2 separate regions of the Homo sapiens genome follow, and region 2 is linked to region 1. Evidence: promoter capture Hi-C in 16 types of primary human blood cells and fetal thymus (Javierre and others, 2016). All regions are on one chromosome and are shown on one strand. Each heading gives the region's core, a stretch centred on a gene start or on the middle of the fragment in contact. The rest is flanking DNA. Distances are from core to core; before and after follow the strand shown. Region 1 holds the start of SH2D3A (SH2 domain containing 3A). Region 2 holds the start of RFX2 (regulatory factor X2).

What was found. Contacts are between HindIII fragments. The CHiCAGO score rates a contact against its expected background, and 5 or more counts as called.
Region 2: the fragment with the promoter of RFX2 here is called in contact with the fragment with the promoter of SH2D3A in region 1 in 1 of 17 cell types (naive B cells); the score reaches 5.2 in naive B cells.

Annotation. Positions count from the first base shown.
Region 1 is chr19:6,762,380-6,770,347 of GRCh38, forward strand. SH2D3A (SH2 domain containing 3A) reads right to left here and starts at 5,056. Exons shown (of 10, transcript NM_005490.3): 1 at 5,008-5,056; 2 at 1,301-1,437. The coding sequence starts at 1,369. RefSeq lists an enhancer at 2,546-3,446 and a silencer at 5,535-5,594. The HindIII fragment of the contact is 16,777 bases long and covers 1-7,968 here.
Region 2 is chr19:6,104,865-6,112,832 of GRCh38, forward strand. It overlaps RFX2 (regulatory factor X2), which reads right to left and starts at 5,636. Exons shown (of 18, transcript NM_000635.4): 1 at 5,529-5,636. RefSeq lists an enhancer at 4,150-4,650 and a silencer at 5,498-5,957. The HindIII fragment of the contact is 2,952 bases long and covers 3,693-6,644 here.

The sequences.
Region 1 (7,968 bases), core at 3,806-6,305:
TCATCATATAGGTCAGGCTGGTCTCGAACTCCTGACTTCAGGTGATCTACCCACCTCGGCCTCCCAAAGTGCTAGGATTACAGGCATGAGTCACCATGCCCGGCCCATTTTTTTCTTCCGGCCTTTTTTTTTTTTTTTTTTTTTTGAGTCAAGGTCTCTCTCGATTGCCCAGGCTGAGTGCAGTGGAGCACTCATGGCTCACTCACAGCCTTGACCTCCTGGGCTTAAGCAATCCTCCCATCTCAGCCTCCTGAGTAGTTGGGACAACAGGTACATGCCACCCATGCCTGGATAATTTTCGCTTTTTTTTTTTTTTTTGTGTAGAGACAGAGTTCTGCTATGTTGCCCAGACTGGTTTGGAACTCCTGACCTCAAGTGATCCTCCTGCCTCAGCCTCCCAAAGTGCTGGGATTACAGGCATGAGCCAACATGCCTGGCCTGCTATCCCTATGTTAAAGATCGGGAGACTGAGGCCCAGAGAGGTCAAATGTCCTGCCCAAGGTCACATACAATATAAATTGTAGGGTTTGGATTTGAACCTAGGGTGTCTGGGTCTCAATTATGGGATTTTAACTATTAAGTTCTACTGCCTCTCATGATTTCATGAGATGCTCAGGGTCCCAGAATTTTTGGGGGTGACAACTGAGTTTCAGATGGAGGTGGGAGCCTCAGATTTATTTGTTTGTTTATTTATTTATGTTTTTGACAGAGTCTCGCTCTGTTACCCAGTCTGGAGTGCAGTGGCACAATTGTGGCTCACTACAACCTCTGCCTCCTGGGTTCAAGAGATTCTCCTGCCTCAGCCTCCCAAGTAGCTGAGACTACAGGCGCATACCACCATGTCTGGCTAATTTTTGTATTTTTATTAGAGATGGGGTTTCACAATGTTGGCCAGGCTGGTCTTGAACTCCTGACTTCAAGTGATCCGCCCACCTCGGCCTTTCAAACTGTTGGGATTACAGGCGTGAGCCACCATGCCTGGCTTGGGAGCCTCACATTTAGAGGGAAATACCAGGAGGTAGATGGAGTTCAGAGGGAGAGACGGCCAGAGCCAAGAGTAGTTTGGGGGCATTAGGACTCTCCTTAAGCTCCATCACCAATCTCATCATCCCAAAGAAAGTGATAATTTAAATATAGTGACAGTCCCCAGCCAGCCAACCTTCAAGACAGTCCCCAGCCCTCTGCCACCTGTCCCAATAGACCTTGGCACTAAGTCCCTCATCCAGGGACCCAGGAATCCTCAGCAAGGGTGGGAGAGGCTCCCCACCAGATGGTGCTGAGGTCCTGCTGTGGGTGGTACCTGGCGGGACAGGAGGCCGTGGTACCAAGGTTGGCCAGCAAGGTCTTCTCCATCCTGTGGCACCTGCATGGAGCTCTTGGGAACAGAGGGTGCCAGGGCTGAGCTCTGCACTTTCAACAGGCCTCAGTCTTCCACATCTGTAAAAGGGGAATAATTAGCCCTGCTTGAGTGTCTGGGTCAGCTCCTTTCATCCTCTTCTTAATTTTGGAGACAGCTCCATCAAATCTTTTTTTTTTTTTTTTTTTTTTTTTGAGACAGAGTCTCATTCTATCACCCAGGCTGGAGTGCAATGGTGCGATCTTGGCTCACTGCAACCTCTGCCTCCCAGATTCAAGCGATTCTCCTGCCTCAGCCTCCCAAGTAGCTGGGATTACAGGCATGCACCACCACACCCAGCTAATGTTTTTTCTTTTTTTATATTTGTAGTAGAGACAGGGTTTCACTGTGTTCGCCAGGCTGGTCTTGAACTCCTGACCTCAGGTGATCCACCTGCCTCAGCCTCCCAAAGTGCTGGGATTACAGGCATAAGCCACTGCACGCAGACTTTTTTTTTTACATTTAAAGAGAGAGGTCTTATGTGTTGCCCAGGCTGGAGTGCAGTGCTATTCACAGGTGTGATCATAGCACACTTTAGCCTTGAATTCCTGGGCTCAAGGAATCCTCTAGCCTCAGCCTCCCAAGTAGTTGGGATTACAGATGTCACCATCGTGCCTGTTCCAAATATAATGCAATCGAAGAAAAAAAAAATGGCTGAAGATGACAACATGCCACCCCATCTTGCAGAAATGTAATTAATGAATTCACTGAACCCCTATTTATTCAGCACCTTATGGGGTCCCAGGCTCTGTTCTAGGCCCTAGAGACATAGCATTGAACAAAACAGATGGAAATCTCTGTCCTTGGGAGCTGACATTCTACTGGGGAGCAGCACCTCAGAAAAGAACTAGATGATGGCATACATGAGTGAGTGCTAGACAAAAAAACTAAACCATGGATGGGATATAATGAAAGTACAGGTGCTAGGGTGAACACTCTTTTTTTTTTGAGACAGAGTCTTGCTTTATTGCCCAGGCTGGACTGCAGTGGTGCAATCACAGCTCATTGCGGCCTTGACCTCCTGGGCTCAAGTGATTCTCCCACCTCATCCTTCTGAGTAGCTGGGACTATGAGCGTGGGCCACTGTACCTGGCTAATTTTTTTTTTTTTTTTTTTTTTTGAGATCAAGTCTCACTCTGTTGCCCAGGCTGGAGTGCAGTGGCATGATCTCAGTTCATTGCAACTTCCGCCTGCTGGTTTCAAGCAATTCTCGTGCATCGGCCTCCTCAGTAGCTGGGACTACAGGTGTGTGCCACCATGCCTGGCTAATTTTTAAAATATTTTTAATAGAGATGGGGTTTCTCCATGTTGGCCAGGCTGGTCTCGAACTCCTGACCTCAGGTGATCCACCCTCCTCAGCCTCCCAAAGCACTGGGATTACCAGCATGAGCCACTGCGTCTGGCTGTGCCTGGCTAATTTTTAAATATATATGTAGAGATTGGGTCTTGCCACGTTGCCCAGGCTGGGTGAACATTTTTGATCATGTGACCAGGAAAGGTCTCATTGAGTAAAGTCTGGAAGGAATTCTGGGGAGTGTGCCAGGTGACTCTGGGTGAAAAAACATCCCAGTCAGGGGGAATTTAACTTACAAACATCCATGGCTTCTCGGCAACCTATGCGCACACTCAGAGGTTCTCAGGATAGGTGCAGATCTAACCCCTATTCTTTGCTTTAGAATGCAACGCTGGGGGCCAGGCGCGGTGGCTCACTCTTGTAATCCTAGCACTTTGGGAGGCAGAGGTGGGTGGATCATCTGAGGTCAGGAGTTTGAGACCAGCCTGGTCAACACAGTGAAACCCCGTCTCTACTAAAAATACAAAAATTAGCCAGGCATGGTGGCGTGTGCCTGTAGTCCCAGCTACTCAGGAGGCTGAGGAGAGAGAATCGCTTGAATCCAGGAGGCAGACCCTGCAGTGAACCGAGATCACACCACTGCACTCCAGCCTGGGTGACAGAGCAAGACTCCGTCTCAAAAAAAAAAAAAAAAAAAAGAATGTAACCCCAGGGTTAAGATTTTTAAAAGGTCACATTTTGTAGCAATGTCAGCAAACAGCAATGTTGCCTTTGCAGATCCTTCTATTTCGGAGCCCATACATGTGGTTATCATGATGATTGAATTTGGATCTCAGACATTTTGGTAGTTTCCCGATAATCTCACAGGCCTCAGGGCCAGTGTGTCTCAGGTGTCTGGTGGGGGAGATTTCTCTGGATGGTCCAGAAGAAGATAATCTGCTTCTTACTCTCCTGCAAGCTCTCCCTGCAGCCCTGCAAAGTCTTCTGGTGGGGTCTGCAGAGAAATTCCTGCCTCCTGAGTCAGCAGGAAGTTCCCAGACCAGCCCTAGGTGGCTTTAGGGGAGGAGCGCTGGGCAGGGAGCCAGCTGCCAGTGCCGCATACCTGAAGCCAGGTGTGTCTTTGCAATGCCTGCGCACTTCCTGTTTGTCACCTGGACCAGGGCTAGCCTCGGTCGCAGAGTTTCCCAACCCCAAGTTCCTGTCTTGTGTCTCCCTTAGTGAGAGTGAAGTTGAGTCAATGGCAAGGTTCTGGTTAGTTTGAGGACACAGGGTGGCCATAGGTCAGCCAAAGGCCAACTAAGCCATCTCCTGCCTCTGAGTCCTTTGGGATCATTTATTCGGGCACGGAAGAGAAGAAACGGGCAGAATCAGGAATCAGACCAAGCATAGAGAGAGGAGAGAGGGGATTATTCATGTTCCAGTTGGATCATAAACATGTGTCCACGTGTGGGGAGGACGTGGAGGGTGGGAACCACCAGCACAGGCAACACAAACACAGATGTAGGCAGGACTCGCTTTTGACGTTGGACGACCATTGCTGGAGCACTTGCTGTGCACCAGGCTCTGTTCTAGGACCTAGAGATACAGTGACTAAGGAGATTAAAGCTCGGCACCACCCTGCCCTCCAGAGCTTGCAGTCGGCTGCGCAAGACAGACTGCAAACGAGCACAAGATGAATGGAGAAGACAGACCATTTCTAAGAGTTATCAATGAAAGTGATAAGCCAGGGAGATGTGATAGAGGAGGCTGGACAGGACAGCCTCTCCTATAAAGTGACATTGGAACTGAGACCTCAGTACAGAAGGAGGCAGTTAGGCAAAGATTTGGAGGAGTCGCCTGGGTGAGGGGTACAGTAAGGGTAAAGGCCTGGAGCTGAGATGGACTTGCTTTTTACATTTTACATCATCAAGGCGGCTGGTGTAGCCGGAATACGATGAGGAAGGAGTAGATAGGAGGGCAATGAGGTTGGAGAGATCAGGAGGAGAGACTAGGCAAAAACTAGTGGACTTTGAATTTTAATCTCTATGACCCAAGGGTTTTAAGTGAAGGAGGGGCCCGATCTGATTCGCCGTTTAAGAGGATCACTCAGGCAAAAATGGAAACAATGGCTTTCTGTGCTGCACAGGAAATACACTTAGAGAGGCACGCCCAGGTGAGCCCGAGCACACCGACACGCGTAACGCACAGCGACCCTCTCATTCGCGAGGCGACCTCTTCTACCCCAGATCCTCCCTGCGAGCCGGTGACCCCACCTGGAAAGAGAGGACTCCCCATCCCAATAATCCTGGTTCTGGATCTGCCCTGGGGCTCCACTCACCTGGGCAGGACCCGCGGGGCTCCCACGAGGCTGGGTCCAGGCGGAAGCTGAGGCTCCGCGGCTCCGGGCTGCTGTCACCCCCGCCCTCCACCTTGCCACCGCCCCAGCCTTCCCAGACCACACCTAGTGGGAACTCAGCCCAGTTACCTGACCACACCTCCTGCAGACCCCGCCCCCTGCGGGCCCCGCCTCAAACTAACTTCCCAGGCCCTTGCTCCGCCCCCTTAAAACCATTTTTTTTGCTACTAGCCACGCCTCCTTCTGCATCGCACCGCTTTCTCCATAGACCCCGCCCACTAGGGGAGCACCACGCATCCTTTCCTGCCAGTGGCCCCTCCCCTTGTATATAGCCACGACCACCGCCGAATGACTACGCCCACCCGCAGCCACCTCCTTCTCAGCCCCGCCCCTTAGGGCAATAGAAGAAATTTCATCCCAACGTTCCCGCCCCTTAGAACCCTGCCCCTCCCTTCCACCCAGGCGGCCCCAAGCACCCATGGCCCTTTGGGACCAGGGCGGGGTGGAGTGGGGTGCCTCTCTCCCCTCCCCGCCAAGGCTCCGGGTCAGGGCAGGGCAACTCCCTCGGGCTCTTACGCCAGGCTGGGGTAGCTGCGGCAGCTGTGACGTAAGGAGGGGTACGCTTCCTCCAGACCGCCCTCCCGGATTTTCCGGAAAGAAGCCCCATTTAGGTGGCGGGTTTTGTGGAGAGACGTCCGGGAAAACGCGACAGCTTCCTTCAGTGACAGCACGCTGGAGCGGGGCGGGACTTTGGTGGAGGTGGAAGGCAAATCATTCAGGTGGTTTCCCAGGTGGGAAGAAGGGTGGGGGGGACTTCCATCGTGATGCCTGGAGACGAACAAGAGAAAAGGTGACAGGGACCTAGTGCAAGAGAGAGGACTCTTTGGCCACGTTTATTGATGAGTTCCTCATATTAACATCAGTCTTGTCTTGTAGAGACAGGGTCTTGCTATATTGCCCAGGCCGGAGTGCAGTGGTGATCATAGCTCACTGTAGCCTCAACCTCCTGGGCTTAAGCTATCCTCCCGCTTCAGCCTTCCAAGCAGCTGAGACTAAAGGTGCACACCACCACACCCAGCTGATTTTATTTTATTTTTTGTAGATGTGGCGTCTTACTATGCTGCCCAGGCTCTGGAACTCCTGGGCTCATGCGAACTTCCTGCCTTGGCCTCCCAGAGCGCTGAGATTACAAGCAAGCATGAACCACTGTGCTTGGCCCCAGTAACCACAGTCTTAAAAGCAGTAGCAGCAGCTAACATTTATTGAGCACTTACTGTACACAAGGGCTGTTCTGTCAACTTGCCTTTATTTTATTTTATTTTATTTTTTGAGATGGAGTTTCACTCTCGTTGCCCAGACTGGAGTGCAGTGGCAGCAGTCTCAGCTCACTGCAACCTCCACCTCCCCGGTTCAAGCGATTCTCCGGCTGTAGACTCCCGAGTAGCTGGGATTACAGGCTAATTTTTGTATTTTTAGTAGAGATGGGGTCTCGGCCAGACTGGTCTCAAACTCCTGACCTCATGTGATCCACCTGCCTCGGCCTCCCAAAGTGCTGGGGTTACAGGCATGAGGCCTCTATTTTAATTTTCAAACAGACCACCCTGTAAGGGTGGTAGGTAGTATTTTCATCACTTCCATTTTCCAGATGGAGAAACTGAGGCACAGGGCAACTAAACCATTTGCCCAAGTTAACCTGGCTTGTAAGTGGTAGAGGCGAAATTCAAACCCGGAGCTCTGGAGCTTTATCCTGTCTGCCTCCTTTTCAATCTTCGCATGCCCACTTTCTCCACGATGCTGCTTTGCGGTGAAAGTTACTCACCCACCATTTTACAGATGAGGAAATTGAGGCCTAGAGGGCCAACGATGCTTGGGGATGAAAAGTTTTGATGCCTGTAGGTTGCAAAGCAGGGAATTTCCAGACTGGGCTCCCCCGACTGGCCCTGGCAAATATGGAAGAGACTCCAGGCTCAAGAGGGGAAGAAAGTTTCTTCCTTATCCCTCACCGGTCTGGTATTGGTACAGTCAGAGGGTAGGGGCATGTTCAGGGAAGGGGTCTAGCGCCTCCTCGTGGTTATAATAATTTAAAAAGAGGGCCCAGCACTTTGGGAGGCCGAGGTGGGCAGATCACCTGAGGTCAGGAGTTCCAGACCAGCCTGACCAACATGGTGAAACCCTGTCTCCACTAAATACAAAATTAGCTGGGTGTGGTGGAATGCACCTGTAATCCCAGCTACTGGGGAGGCTGAGGAAGGAGAATCACTTGAACCTGGGAGGCGGAGGTTGCTGTGAGCAGATTAGCTGTGTGTGGTGGCATGCACCTGTAATCCCGGCTACTAGGGAGGCTGAGGAAGGAGAATCACTTGAACCTGGGAGGCAGAGGTTGCTGTGGGCAGAGATTGCACCATTGCACTCTAGCCTGGGCAACCAGAGTGAAACTTTCTCCTAAGAATAATAATAACGATAATTTAAAAAGAAACTCCATGATGAGGGCCACGTATTAGGTGGACGGGGGAGGGCCTGCTTACACTCTACTGGGGTGGAAGCTAGGGATGGGGGCAGAGAGACCTAATCTCATGAAGATGATTTCAGCTAATGATAAGGTAATGGCCGGGAAGCCAGTAAATGTTTGTTGAATGAGTTAATGAAAGACACTATTGGGCCTGGCACAGTGGCTCGTGCCTGTAATCCCAGCACTTTGGGAGGCTGAGGCAGGTGGATCACTTGAGGCCAGGAGTTTGAGACCAGCCTGGGCCACATGGCGAAACCCTGTCTCTACTGAAAATACAAAAATTTAGCCACGCATGGTGACACCTATAATCCCAGCTACTCGGGAGGCTGAGGCAGGAGAATCACTTGAATCTGGGAGGCAGAGGTTGCAATGAGCCGAGATTGCGCCACTACACTCCAGCCTGGTCCATAGAGCAAGACAAAAAAAAAAAAAAA
Region 2 (7,968 bases), core at 4,386-6,885, 660 kb before region 1:
ATCCCAGCACTTTGGGAGGCCGAGGTGGGCAGATCATGAGGTCAGGAGATCGAGACCATCTTGGCCAGCATGGTGAAACCCTGTCTCTACTAAAAATACAACAATTAGCTGAGCGTTGTGGCACGTGCCTGTAATCCCAGCTACTCAGGAGGCTGAGGCAGAAAAATTGCTTGAACCTGGGTGTCAGAGGTTGCAGTGAGCCGAGATTGCACCACTACACTCCAGCCTGGTGACAGAGTGAGACTCCGTCTCACAAAAAAAAAAAAAAAAGAAGTTAATAAAACAGAAGTTCCTGCCCTTACTGAGCTGACATTCTAACAAGAGGACAGTGATAATACAATAAATACGTATAACTTATGGTGTGTTATATAGGAATAAATGCTAAGGAGACAGAGAAAGCAGGGAAGGAGGCTGAGAGCACCCATTCTCAAGTGGGTGGCCTGGTGACATCTGAGAAAAGGCCTGAAGAAAGTCGGAGAGCCAGCCCTCCAAATACCTGGGCAAAGAGCTTTCCAGGCAGAGCTGGAATGAGCTTCCAGAGGCCAGCAGGGTGGAAGTGCAGTGAGGGAAGGCATCTAGCTTGGCGATGAGGTCAAAGAGGTATTAGGCTTGGCGGGGAGTGGAGTTAGGGGTGACTTTGGCTTTTGCTGCAGATGAGATGGGAGCCATCGGAGGGTTTCGAGCTGAGGGGTATGAAGTAGAACTTAACATGACGCCGCCTCTCCCAGGGTTAACAGGCCCCGTCTGGCTGCTGGGCTGAGAGACTGCCGAGCACCAGTGGTGGAATCATCCGGGCTAGATGCTGGTGGCTGGGACCAGAGGGGCTGGCAGTGGAGGTGGCGAGGCATGGTCAGGTTCTGGGGAACTACTGAAGGTGGAGTCAACAGGATTTGCTGATGGCTTGGGAGAGAGGAGTCAAGGACAGTCCTGAGGTTTGGCCTGAGTAATGGGAAGAAGTGAGTTGATATGTACCAACGAGTTTGGGGGGTGCTTTGGGAGGAGTAGATCTGGGGGGACTATGACAGGCTCAGCTTGGCCACCTTAAGTTTAAGGTGCCTGTCAGAATCCACCTGGATGTACCCAGCAGGCAGCTGGATAGATGTTTTCTGCAGAGAAGAGCTTAGAATCCTAAGCCAGTCCAGAGCTTCCCAGGCTCCAGTTCCCTATAGGCCTGTTAGGGCCTCTCTCTGGACCTTTTGCCACTCCTCCTTCACCTACCCTTATCCCTTTCGCCCACTTCATTCTGGGTCTTCCCCTATATTTTTTTTCCTGGGAGAATCCTTTTGCTGATCTTAGAGTTTCCAAGAAGCAAGTAGGTGGTTTTCAGTTTTTTCTCTAATTCCCAGTGTATATTCCATCGGCCTGCCCATCCATCCATCCATCCATCCATCCATCCATCCATCCAACAAAATAAGACCTTTCACTACACCAGGCATATGTCTACATGAGAGAACATGAGAACATGACCAGCAGAGGAGCTAATTGCCATTTAAATTCTAGAGACGGAGTCAAAACATCTTTTTAAAAAATACATAAGCCCACAACCCCTTACAACAATACTGAAATCCAGGAAACTCTGAAAACTGGCAATTTTTTTGTAAATTTGGCATGGACTCACTTGGTGACAAAAGCTGGCCTGAATTGACATGAAGTTACTTATGGTCCTTCTCTTCCCCACTTCGGGTGAATATTCATATAGTTCAGTTCAGAAATACGGCTGTGTTTAGTGGGAATGCCCTGGACCCATAGTTTCAGAGACAGGCCCACAGACTCGCATTCTCCTCCCCTGCAGTTTAGTGAGTGTCCTGACAAGCAAGATGAGAACTTCCCTTGGTTTTTCAAAAGTTTCCTATTTTACAAGTAAGTGGGTACCTATGGGGGTATACTGTTTAAATGTTTGTAAATATTTAAATATATTTGTTTTATATTTAACATATATTTATATTTAAATTTTATTATATTTAAATATATAAGTATATATTATATATACATGTTTTAATATTTCAATATATATTTTAAAAATATTTAAATATTTAATAAATAGATGTCAACTTTAGAAACAAATATATATTATAAGATGTGGTTCCTTCTGGCCCCAGCATTTTATGAGCAAAACAATCACTAGCTACTATAAAAATCCACAGGTGCCGGCCGGGCGCGGTGGCTCACGCCTATAATCCCAGCACTTTGGGAGGCCAAGGTGGGCGGATCACATGGTCAGGAGATCGAGACCATCCTGGCTAACACAGTGAAACCCCGTCTCTACTAAAAAATACGAAAAATTAGCCGGGCGTGGTGGCAGGCGCCTGTAGTCCCAGCTATTCGGGAGGCTGAGGCAGGAGAATGGTGTAAACCTCGGGGGTGGAGCTTGCAGTGAGCCGAGATGGTGCCACTGCACTCCAGCCTGGGAGACAGAGCAAGACTCTGTCTCAAACAAACAAACAAACAAACAAAAATCCACAGGTGCAGGGGCCGGGTTTGGTGGCTTACGCCTGTAATCCCAGCACTTTGGGAGGCCAAGGCGGTTGGATCATTTGAGGTCAAGAGTTTGAGACTAGCCTGGCCAACATAGTGAAACCCCATCCCTACTAAAAATACAAAAATTAGCCGGGTGTGGGGGTGCATGCCTGTAATCCCAGCTATTCAGGAGGCTGAGACAGGTGAATCCCTTGAGCCTGGGAGGTGCATGTTAAGGTGAGCTGAGATCTTGCCACTGCACTCCAGTCTGGGTGACAGAGTGAGACCCTGTCTCAAAAAAAAAAAAAAAAAAAAAAAAAAAATCCACAGGTGCATTTAAAATTTTGACTCGATTATAATATTAAAGTTAAGCCAATTTAATATTTTTATTAATTATAATGCTAATGTAAAACTAAACAATTAGATCTAAGGAATAAGACCCAGATAAACAATTCCCCAGCACCTGCATTTCTGGTGGACAGAACCATCCTTAGCAGTACTTCAATGATAAACAATGTTAAAAGATGAGTATTTACATTTAAATATACATCACATACACATTATATTATATTGTTGTATTTAAATATACATCACACATACATTAAGGTAATGCGTGCCCTTCACGCAGAAAGCAAAGATCAAGTGATTTCAAAGAACTTGTCCTGTTATTGAGGTAATAACTGTCTCTCTCTTCTCAGATTCAGTGGTTTATAAGAAAGAACTTAAAAAACTAAAATATTTCAGTATTGCTTTTCCTGCAGGAGCAAACTATTTCAGAACTCATTCCCAACCCAAGTCCGTTGAACTGTCACAGAATCACAGAACAGTGATCTTTCCCATCATACATTATAAGTTGCCTTCCGTACCACGCCTGTTGATGAAGAAGCCCTAGTAATTCAAGAACTTAAATTCTTTTCCTAGGGAGGTTACCATAAACTCTTACTTCTCTGGTCAGAGTAGGTGAGTTGTCGTTTCTAAGGTTATTTTAGAGTCAGTTCAAGTCTTTAAACTAGAGCAGGAGAAAGCACAGATGCCCCCCTCCTCCTTATCCAGAAGGACGGGAGGTAAGGATCTTTCCATAAGCAAACAATGTTTCAGGGCACGATGTAAAAAGATAAAATACATGTCAACAATATGTACAGGCAAAAATTTTTTTAAAAAGTCTTTGTTGTTTTGTGTCATTATTATTATTACTGTTACTTTGTTGGGGAACTCTTAGTTGAAACAGAGAATGAAGCTTGTACAAGGTTTGATACAGAGATGAAGCTGACTGAGAGGGAAAAGAACTCATCGAAGCCTGCGCTGGTCATTTATGATACAAAGCAGGAAAATAATTGCAGGGAGGCACAATGCTAACAACACCCCAAAGTAGGAATGAAGCCTGGGGGGGCGGGGGTAAGGCAGCCAGCCCTGGGTCCCGAGCTCCATCTTGCCCTCTCCCCTCCCCATTCTTGCCGCACAACCAGGAGGTTAAAATAGGAAGATGAACCGCGCCGGCAGCCGCCAGAATGGCCCGGGCGCTTGGGGCCCTCGGGGGCCCTTGAAATAGCCACTAGGATCGGGAAATCCAACTTTCCCAGCGGTGCAGCGAGGAAAACCAAAAGGAACGGAGCCGGAGGCTGGTGGCGAGGGAGCGCGGAGGCTTCTCGGAGGGAGGAAAAAGAAAGAAATGAGCATTTGGGGTGTGAGTGAGTGTGTGTGTGTGAGTGTGTGTGTGCGCCCGCGAGCGCGCTGGTGGGCGGTGGGGGCAGGGGGTGGAGTTTAAATCCACAAACACACACACGCACTCGCACTACCTCGGAGAAAATGCCTGGAGCAGTTTAGGTTCTTTAACAAAATAAATAAATTGAAAAAAAAAAAAAGTTTCACTCGCGTTGGTGAAACTTTTCTCCCTTCCAGATCAGTCCTAAGAGGAGAGCTGCGGACGTGCGGAGGGGCATCTTGGGGGCACGTGGAAAGACTGGCGGACGCACGAACCCCTATACTCAGGAATATGGGGTCACAGGGAGAAGGGGAGGGGGTGTCCGAGGCGACCTGAACGCGAGGATTTGGGGCAAAAAGGTGAGAAACAGTTCCCGGGGAAGCTCGCTCGGGGAGTTTGGGATGAAAAGGTGAGAAGGGCAAGAGGGGTTCTCCCCAGGGCAGACGCACCAGCTTTTAGTTAAGGAATGAGAAAAAGGTTCCAGGGGTGCCCCCAAATTCAGTATGTCTGGGAGTCCATTAAAAAGGGGGTCCCCGGGACAAGTCAGATCTAGGAATTTGGGGTAAAAATGAGAAGGGAGTCTTCGAGGTCCCCCCGATGCAAGAAGTTTGCGACTAAGAGTGACAGAAGGGCTCTGGGGTCACCCCAATTTCGGAGGTTTGGGGAGTAAAGTAAGAAGAGGGCCCCAGGTGGCCCCAATTCAGGGAGTTTGAGGGTATGAGTAAAAGAGGGGTCCCCGGGTGTCCCCATCTCAGAGATCTGGGGAGTAAAAGTGAGGAGAGGGTCCCCAAGCGCCCCCAATTCAGAGAATTCGAGGGTTTGAGTAAAAGAAGGGTCCCTGGGTGCCCCCAACTCAGAGATCTGGGGAGTAAACGTGAGAAGAGGGTCCCCTGGCGCCCCCAATTCAGAAAATTCGAGGGTATGAGTAAAAGAGGGGTCCTTGGGTGCCCCCAACTCAGAGATCTAGGGGGTTAAGGTGAGAAGAGGGTCCCCAAGCGCCCCCAATTCAGGGAGTTTGAGGAGTTTGAGAGACGTTCCCGGGGCGCCCCCAACTCAGCGAGTTTGAAGGTAAGCGTGAGAAAGGGGTCCCCGGACGCCCCAACCTCAGGAAGTTTTGTAAAAAGTGAGGCGACGGCACCGCACCTCCCCCGCGTTCAGTCAATAAGGAAAGTGGGGACGTCGCCAGGGTCCCCCCAAACTCCGCCGCGCGCGCGGACGGGGTGGCGGAGGCGGGTCCCGCGGGCGCACCACCCGGACGTTTGGGGTGAGCGGCGGGGACGTGCTGCCCGCCCCCCGGCCCCCGAACGGGGTCCCCGCCGCCCCCCACACTCCCCGGCCGGGCTGGGCCCGGGGCGGTCGCATCGGTCACCTGGAGTTCGGGCCGGGAGTTCGGGCAGCGGCTCCCGCGGCGGCGGCAGCGGCTGCTGCGTGTTGGTCCCCGTTGGTAAGTAACAGTCTCCACGGCTACAGTCTCTATGGCGGCGGCGGTGGCGGCGGCGGCCGCTCCTCCTCCGGCTCCCGCCGCCAGCCAGCCTCGCGCAGCCCGCCCGCCCGACGGGGCGGGGCGTTGTTACCGGCAACGGTTACCAGGCTCCGCGCCCCACCTTCCTAACGGCCCGCCCACGCTCGCCTCCAACGGGCCCCCAAGAGGGCGGGGCGCGAGACCCTACGGCGTTCCATTGGCTGTCTGCAGAGTCTGTCGGAAGGAGGAGGCGTTCCCCCTTGAAAAAGAGTGCGAGACTCGGCCAATGGCCGCGAAGAGGGGCGGGTCTTGGCGGGAGGCGCGCGCGGCTCAGAGGGTTGGCGAACCGGTCGCGCGCGCGGCGCCGTGGGTTGGTGGCGCGTTTTGGGAAAGTCCAGTTTTAGGGGACCCAAGGGACTCCGTTTACCCCACAGGAGGAGTGTGGGACATGTGGGAACAGTCTGATCAGGGGTCAGCAAACTCTCGCTCGCCGCCTGTTTTTCACGGACCCCCAGCTGAAAATTTAAATATATATATATTTTTTACATGGTTAAAAGAAACTATCGGCCGGGCGCGGTGGCTCACGCCTGTAATCCCAGCACTTTGGGAGGCTAAGGCGGGTGGATCACGGAGTCAGGAGATCGAGACCATCCTGACTAACACGGTGAAACCCCGTCTCTACTAAAAATACAAAAAATTAGCCGGGCGTGGTGGCAGGCGCCTGTAGTCCCAGCTACTTGGGAGGCTGAGGCAGGAGAATGGTGCGAACCTGGGAGGCGGAGCTTGCAGTGAGCCGAGATCGCACCACTGCACTCCAGCCTGGGCGACAGAGCGAGACTCCGTCTCAAAAAAAAAAAAAAGAAAGAAAGAAAAAAAAAGAAACTATCAAAAGGAGCTTTTGTGGGGTGTGAACCTGATAGGAGACTCTCTTTTATTGTATTGGGCCCAGTATTTTGAACTAGTTTAAAGATTGGCAAACTGCGGCCTGCGGGTCAAATTCTGCCTGCTTGGGTTTGTAAATAAAGCTTTATTGGAACATAGCCACGCCCATTTCCTTGAACAGCTTGGAAGGCTGCTTTGACACTACAGGGGCGGAGTGGAGTAGTTGCGCAAAGACGGCATGTCCCACGCGAAGCCTAAGATATTTACTATACGGTCCTTTACAGAAAATGTTTGCCAAACTCACCAGCCCTCCTCTCAAGCTGGTAGATTCAGCTACGAGTAGGACAGAAACAGACAGATCCTCATAGAACTTTTATTCTAGTGAGGGAACATTGACAGCAAACAGAATAAAGAGGTAAACATATAGTTATTCGAGACAAGGGGCTGGAAGAATAGGAGAAAACAACTTGTACTGAGAAAAGGCAGGAGATTAGGCTTCAGCCCCACTCATTCATTCAACAAGAAATCATATTAGTGAGCACTGATTAAATTGCTATGTGCCTGAAAGTGATCTAAGCATTTTTTAAATATGCAAACTCATTAAATCTTACAATCGCATCTTTAGAAAGATGCTAGGCATTATCCCCGTTTTTATTTGTTTTGTTTTTTCTTTTTTTTTTTTTGAGACAGAGTCTCTCTCTGTCACCCAGACTGGAGTGCAGTGGTGCGATCTGGCTCGCTCACTGCAACCTCTGTCTCCCGGGTTCAAGTGATTCTCCTGCCTCAGCCTCTCAAGTAGCTGGGACTACAGGCGCCCGCCACCACGCTCAGCTAATTTTTGTATTTTTAGTAGAGACGGGGTTTCACCATGTTGGCCAGGCTGGCCTGGAACTCCTGACCTCAAGTGATCCGCCCGCCTTGGACTCTCAAAGTGCTAGGATTACAGGCATGAGCCACCATGCCCGGCCTTTCCCCATTTTTCAGATCAGGAAGCTGAGGCCCAGAAAGAATGAGTGAATTTGCCCAGTGTCAAACAGCTTGTGAGGGATCGGAACCCTAGTAGTCTAGTGCCAAAGTCCATGCTCTTGATCACTAGATGGGTGGTTTTCAAACATTTTTGACCACAGCATACAGCAGGAAATACATTTTACCTAGGGGCTCAGTCCACACAAACATATCTATAACTAAAACAAATGATACTGTAACTAAAGTACCGTGAAATGATACTTTAACGCACTCTGATATTTCCTGTTCTGTTTCATTTTAATTAAAATGTTGACGGTGATTTGCTAAATTGATTTCATCATCTTCTAATTTTTTTTTTTTTCTTGAGACAGAGTCTCTGTCGCCCAGGCTGGAGTGCAGTGGCATGATCTCGGCTCACTGCAACCTCCGCCTCCCGAGTTCAAGTGATTCTCCTGTTTCAGTCTCCCGAGTAGCTGGCGTTACAGGCACGCGCCACCAC